Regions from separate parts of the Homo sapiens genome. Here region 1 is linked to region 2. Evidence: promoter capture Hi-C in human tissues and cell types (Jung and others, 2019). All regions are on one chromosome and are shown on one strand. The core of a region is centred on a gene start or on the middle of the fragment in contact, and the rest is flanking DNA. Distances in the headings are between cores, read along the strand shown. Region 1 has its middle 40 kb from the start of PRPS1L1. Region 2 holds the start of PRPS1L1 (phosphoribosyl pyrophosphate synthetase 1 like 1).

Region 1 (3,525 bases), core at 847-3,346, 41 kb after region 2:
ACAAAAGATCAAAATCTCTTTAAAAAGAGTAGGAAGATGCTATTGATGGTACTGGGGATTTACAATATTCTGGATTCAACTAGAGAAAGTCATTTTCTTTAAAGCATAAAAATAAATGCATCCATAAGAGGTAAAATACAGACATTACCTTAAAAATACAAATAAATACCAAGGTTGGAGGTATAATATGGAAATACAGTCCCAAACTGAGAGAATTAATTTAAACTTTTCCTTACTGAGTTAGGAGATTAGTCCTCATTCATTGAATCATCTGAATTTTGCCGATTACTTTTGAACTCATTAAAGATCACTTTTGTTTATGATTTTGATCTATTTTTTCCGAACAAGCTCATTTTTTTTTGTTGTTTAGTAGATTTGATAAGAACCACCATGCTAATAAAATAACCTTATGGGCACATTTTTTTCCTCTTTATATGTAGTGGATATCCTCAAATCTGAAATTTTCTGTTTTTCCAATTCTTCTAATGCCTAATTATGGTCTCAGATCATCTATTCTAAAATTGCCTGATTGGGAGTATTGACACTCTCTTTTGAAGACTGATAGAATTATTGATTCTTCAACCATGGCCCCTAATAACACACTATAATGGAAAGAATGCTTTTCTGTGACAAGTACTTCAAAAACAAATTCCTTTTTGGTCCACAATTTACCTATTTTAAGTGAAGGATCCATCTCCTTGCAATGCTCTACCTGTCATATTGATACTACTATTATTGTATTAGATATATGCATTGAAGATACACATGTTCATAATTAAGTTGAAACAGACACACACACACACACACACACACACACACACACACACAAAGTGATTCTTCCCTGGCCAGTGAGACTAAAGCTTGGATAAATACAAGCATGTCCTAGATACCTTTAATGCAGTTAGGTGGGAAAATCCAGCATTCTCGGGAAACCTTGGAATTTTAAGCTTTAGTGAGCTGCCTGGTGTGCCTTAAAACAGGTATCCAATCTCATTCTAGTGATGATGATAGAGCAACATGGTAGCCCCAGTCAGAATATTTTGCGGTTGACTGACTTAAAGACTTATTCTTATTACAGGTGGTTTTAGCCTATATAATAGTCCAGGCAGAAAAACAGATAGCACAATCAAAGGTGTAATCAAAGGTGTAAAAAGGGCTTCAGTGACAACGTATAGAGGTGTAGGCAAGGTTTAAAATAGTCAACAAGTAATAAAGTACCTAGGAACTGGGTACTTCTGGTATTCTTGCAGCAATAGCAGCAAGTCCTTAGTATCCCTAGGTCTGAAGAGTTGAGAAGTGAGGGCAATTTAACAAACCCTGTAAGAGCCATAGCTCTGGAAACTTCAAGCTGAAGAGGCATGCAGTCACTACCAAGCTGTGGCCCAGCAGACAAAGCTGGGAGTGGTGGTACTAAATAATATGTGACCTCTCTTTCTGAGCCTCACATTGGCCAAACCCAACCAGGTGCCCAAAGGCAAGGAAGCCAGGTGATGCAGTCTGCAGAGGTCAGCCATCTGGGCTGACTGAGAAGAGAATGAATGAAATAATTCTCTTTAAACTGCAAAATGTGACCCAATTACCATGAAACTGAAACTACATTGAAATTAAACTGAAAATGTGACCCGTTTACTGATTACTGATTACACAAAGCTACAAATGATGAAGAGCTGAGCATAAATGAACAGTTAAGATTGGAATCTAAAATGAATTGACACATTTAATAATGTGCTCAGTCAATATTGTGTTCATTTCTTTATCCATTCAGACATCTACTTGTCTTTTCAAGGTAAGTGGTTTACTGTAGAATGTGATTTATATTCAAAGTCTAACTTAATTTTTAATTTTTAAAAACTTTCTCCTTTGTTAGTATATCAGAGGGCCAGGATTAGAACCAAGGAATAATAGGACTGAAAGAAATATGCAGCATTTTATTTAATAAGTTTATGGATAACTGAGTTCCACTTGCATACCTGAACAATTTTATGTTGAATAGCTTGAGAAAGAAGCAGCAGCAGCAACTGGGCCTGTTAGGACAAATGAGAAAGAGGACTGGGTTGATTTGGGTGAGCAGGAAAAGAGTAGACTCGAGCAGCTGGAAATGCTGGTAGCAGCTCACATATTAGTGTGTCCACACTTGTCCCTAGCAACGATTCTATAGCTACAGCAGTAAGCTTATCCTGCTTAAGGTGACAAAATTAACGGCAATGTATTTGCACTAGAATATAATCAATATCATATTGTTTCTATTTTGATGGATGTGAGTGAAAATGGGGGAAAAGTAAAGTTTTGGGTTTGGAAAATAAACTGATTGATTAATCCCATGTACCTTTCATGTAATTGTATCAGTTTGGGCTTGATTCTACATCCTCCTGCCTACTTCTCTTAACTCATTCGGGAGTGAACAAAGGAAGGAATTGCCTAAGCACCAGTGTGAAAGCCAAAGCATAGAGTCCGACACACCTGGAGTCTAATCTTGGTTCACGTCTTACCAGTTCTGTGAACTTAGGCAAGTTACTTAATCCCTCTAAGCCTCAGTTACCTCATGTTGATTATTGTACATTTCTCACAGGGTTATTATTTGGGTTGATTGAGATAATGCAAATAGAGAGAAACATATGATACTTATGAACTCTCATTAAATGTTAGCTGTGGTGATGATGATGATCACAACACCAATGACCATGTTTAGGATGGTTCTGATTGTTATTTTCGCTGGGAGCAATATCCACTAAATTTTAGATTTGATAAAATGGCATTATTTGAGAATGTCACAAGTATGTATTATAAATAAAACTATTACTAAATTAAGATTTAAGATAACATTTTAATATAGACACCTGTAAGTAAAGAAACATTCAGTATGAGTTTAGTTTTGACCACAAATTCTTCCTAACCAGGGATCCCTGAAAGGCCGGGGATCCACATCTTGGTTAATTTTTTCAGTCCTCTTGGGTCTTAGTCTTTGGTCTTTTTCAATAAATATCTGTTTGACAGTATCCTTATTGGCCTTCTTGGCCTCATTTCCCTGGAATGCCTCTTTCTGTGCTATTATGGATGTTGCAAGGTAGGTCTGGATTGCTTTTGCAAATAATCAAGTTTACTGAATATTTGTATTACCAAGATTTGCTGACTTAGTGCTCAAGTCTTATGAGCTTCCTTTGTTTTGCTCATATTTCTGAATATTGCATCTTTTGCCTTCTGCATTCAATAAACTGTGCAGTAGACCCTTGTGTTGCTACTTCGGTATAATTTGTTAGGAGCTGGGCCCCAAAGTCAGACTGTCTGTGTCTGAATTAGGCTTCATTATTCATTCATTAGCTGTGAGATTTAACTAGTCAACTTTATTCTGTCTTAATTTCCTCTTCTTTAACAGTGACAATTATCAGTACCCAAATCGTAGGGTTGTAAAAATTAAATGAGATCATCTATGTGCTAGCACCTAGTCTAGTGCCTTGTATATAGGAAATCCTTAATAAATATTACAATACGTTCAATACTACTTGAACTTCCTCCCCATGAGACGAT
Region 2 (3,116 bases), core at 571-3,070:
CTAATATAAATATTAGAGATTACATAGCAAAAAGTGGGTTTGCCTTCCAGAAGACTATGGTACCCTGACCATTTGGGGCCCAGTAGGATATTTAGCAATGAAAAGGTCAAGATGGGTGGAGGTAAAGCTAAATCAAAAGGAACAGGTATAACTGAGAATCCAAGATAGATAGTGTCCAAATAGATGGTGACAGATCAATCTTCCTCCTCTCAAGAAGCATTTACTGTACTTGTTGCTTCCTCTCAAGATCCCAATGGCTGCTCAAGCTGAAAGTTGCCTATTCCTGCTGTTGAGGGTGTTCAGCAACCAGAATTAATTTTGTGGTGGCTCAGGGCTCTTGCTGCAACTGAGCATCGAACTTGGAGAATTTGTGACACAAAGTGGGGGTTTGGGGCAGGGGGTAGATTGGGTGGCTTTATTGCTAGTTGTTCTGAAAAAAGAAAACTCCGAAGCATTTACATGTAAGCTTTCCAACCACTTTCAAACACCTCTACAAAACACCCTCAGAAGTCTGAAATCTTTGCAGCAGAAGGGCTGTAGTTAAAGCTGCTGGGCTAACAAAATCATCAAAGAAGCCAGATGAGACAACCCAGTCAGGAAATCCTAGTGATTATTCTTAACCTGTTTTTCCCTAATTTAAGGTAAACTCTTATATACCTGATGTGGGATGTAGAAAGTTACACTGGAGCAAGCTGGATCTTCTGCTGAACTTTTAATCAAACCTAAGAAAAAATAAAGGCAAGGTTTGTTTTTATTAATCTTATTTTATTTTAAAATAGCATAACCTAGAAGTTATTCTGTTATAAAGGAACATGGCTGAACAGGTAGGAAACAGATTCCCCATTATGAGTTCTCCTTATGGCTTCTGCAAGGATCATGGAGATGTCAATTACTCGTATTTTGGAGCAATGCTTCATCTTCTCATCTTGAGGTATGGTATTGGTGACTACCACTGCTTCAAAGCATGCAGTGTTGATGCGAGAAATGGCTGGGCCAGAAAAGATTCCATGAGTCAAGATAGCATAAACTCTGGTTGCTCCAGCTGAGAGAAGTTTGTCAGCTGCGAGGCAGATTGTAACACAAGTGTCTGCCATGTCATCTACAAGGATAGCCACACGATCATTCACATCTCCCACTAGCACTATGCAGTCCACTTCATTGGCCTTCTTCCGTTCTTTATGAATCAAAGCAAAGTCCACATTCAACTGGTCTGCAATGGAGGTCACTCTTTTAGCTCCACCAGCATCTGGCGAGACAATAATGCAGTTCTTCCACTCAGGGATATTCTCCCTTATCCACTTCAGGACAGTTGGCTCTGCATACAAGTTGTCTACTGGGATATCAAAAAAGCCCTGAATTTGAGAAGCATGTAGGTCCATGGTGATGATATGATCCGCACCTGCTATAGAGAGCATATTTGCAACAAGCTTGGCAGAGATTGGGGACCGGCTCTTATCCTTCTTATCCTGTCGGGCATAAGGGAAGCATGGGATGACTGCAGTAACTCGGCTAGCTGAAGCAATCTTGCAGGCATTAATCATGATCAAAAGCTCCATTAGACTGTCGTTGATTTCGCCACAACCACTCTGAACGATGTAGACATCCTCTCCACGCACACTCTCATCAATTTCCACGCAGGTCTCCTGGTTGCTGAATTTCTTAGTCACCACCTTGCCTAGCTCCAGGCCCAGGCGGTCAGCAATTTTCTGGGATAAGTCCTGGTGGGAGCTGCCGCTGAAGATTTTGATATTCGGCGTCTTGGCCAACTACCAGAGGCACTCCGTCGAGCGATCCAGCTGCCGCTGAGGCTGGAACGGAAGTGAAGCACAGACTCTAATGGCTTCCGGTTGTTACTCAACCGTTAGGGTCCCTTCCCCCTTGCGGCGCGCGGTCCCAAATTGACCCTGGGTCTCTTGAAAAAATTTCTGCTTGCCACCTCCCACTTCACACTTTTAGACTAAATAATCAAGTATTTACAGTGTATGGAGTTTTTTTCTATTAGCACCTATATTAGTTTCACAGGGCTATTTAAACAAATTTGAATGCATAAAAACATAAAACTACAAAGCAAAACCCAAGTTTAAAAGGAAAATTACCTACTAAAGTATATGCAAAAGATTATTTTAGAAAGAATTTCCCCAATGAAGTGAGAAAAAGACAATAAAATAGAAAGTTGAAAAATGGCATAAATAGGCAATCACAGTAAAAAAAAAATGGATAAGAAACGTGAAACAATGGAAGTAATCAAGAAAACGCTATTTTCACACATCAAGTAGCCAAAATGTTAAGATAAGGTCTTCTATTCGGATGGAATGTATAAATATGTAGATTTTGCATGGGTAATTTTGCACATAAACTTTGACTCATCATGTATACTTCTAGGAATCTATTTCAGAGAAATTTTCACAAGCACCCCAAATATATATGGCTACATAGTAGTGTAGCTGTATTCATTCATGCAATAAATATTTTGTGAACACCTCCTATATGTCAGGTATTATACTACTTCTAGGGTATAAAAATTGTGCATGACAAATAGTAATTGCCCTAGAATTGTTTATAAAAGCAAAATATGGGAACCAACAAATGTTCATCAATAGGTAAATTACCAAATAATTTATTGTATATACATATGCGACCATTAAATAGATTAAGTGTAATCATGTGGAAATGTCTCCTAGGTATTTTTTTAAAGGTAAAGTCAGTCACAAAAATATCATAGTATTATATTTATGTATTTAAGATTATGTGATACTGAAAGCATCCAATTAGCATGGAAGTCCTCTTTATAATAATTACCTTTGGAGAGGGGAGTAGGTTGTGAGAGTTGAGAATGAAGGAGGACTGTTACATTTTACTGCTATCAGTGTGGCATTTGAACATTTATTACTTTTGTAGTAAAAATGATGAACAAAATGTATTTGGTAATTAAATGTTTGTTAGCAAATTTTAAGTATACAGCTTCTATGGCGTATCGGGGCTGGAAATAGTGAGGAAGGAGGCAGAAAGGACCATAGATGCCAATGATTTCATAAAAATAATGGAGGCATCAGATACAGATCAACCATTTATATCTTGCTAATTGTGTGCCTGACATTTGGATACCAGGGTGTTTT

The links. Contacts are between HindIII fragments. The study calls those that stand out against the background at their distance.
Region 1: a fragment that was not itself captured here is called in contact with the fragment with the promoter of PRPS1L1 in region 2 in 2 of the 25 tissues and cell types used here (heart left ventricle and mesenchymal stem cells).

Annotation. Positions count from the first base shown.
Region 1 is chr7:18,066,481-18,070,005 of GRCh38, forward strand. No RefSeq gene overlaps it. Among named protein-coding and RNA genes, the nearest start is that of PRPS1L1, 40 kb to the left of the region's middle. The HindIII fragment of the contact is 3,716 bases long and covers 239-3,525 here.
Region 2 is chr7:18,026,026-18,029,141 of GRCh38, forward strand. PRPS1L1 (phosphoribosyl pyrophosphate synthetase 1 like 1) reads right to left here and starts at 1,821. Exons shown (of 1, transcript NM_175886.3): 1 at 745-1,821. The coding sequence starts at 1,757. The coding sequence ends at 801. The HindIII fragment of the contact is 4,496 bases long and covers 947-3,116 here.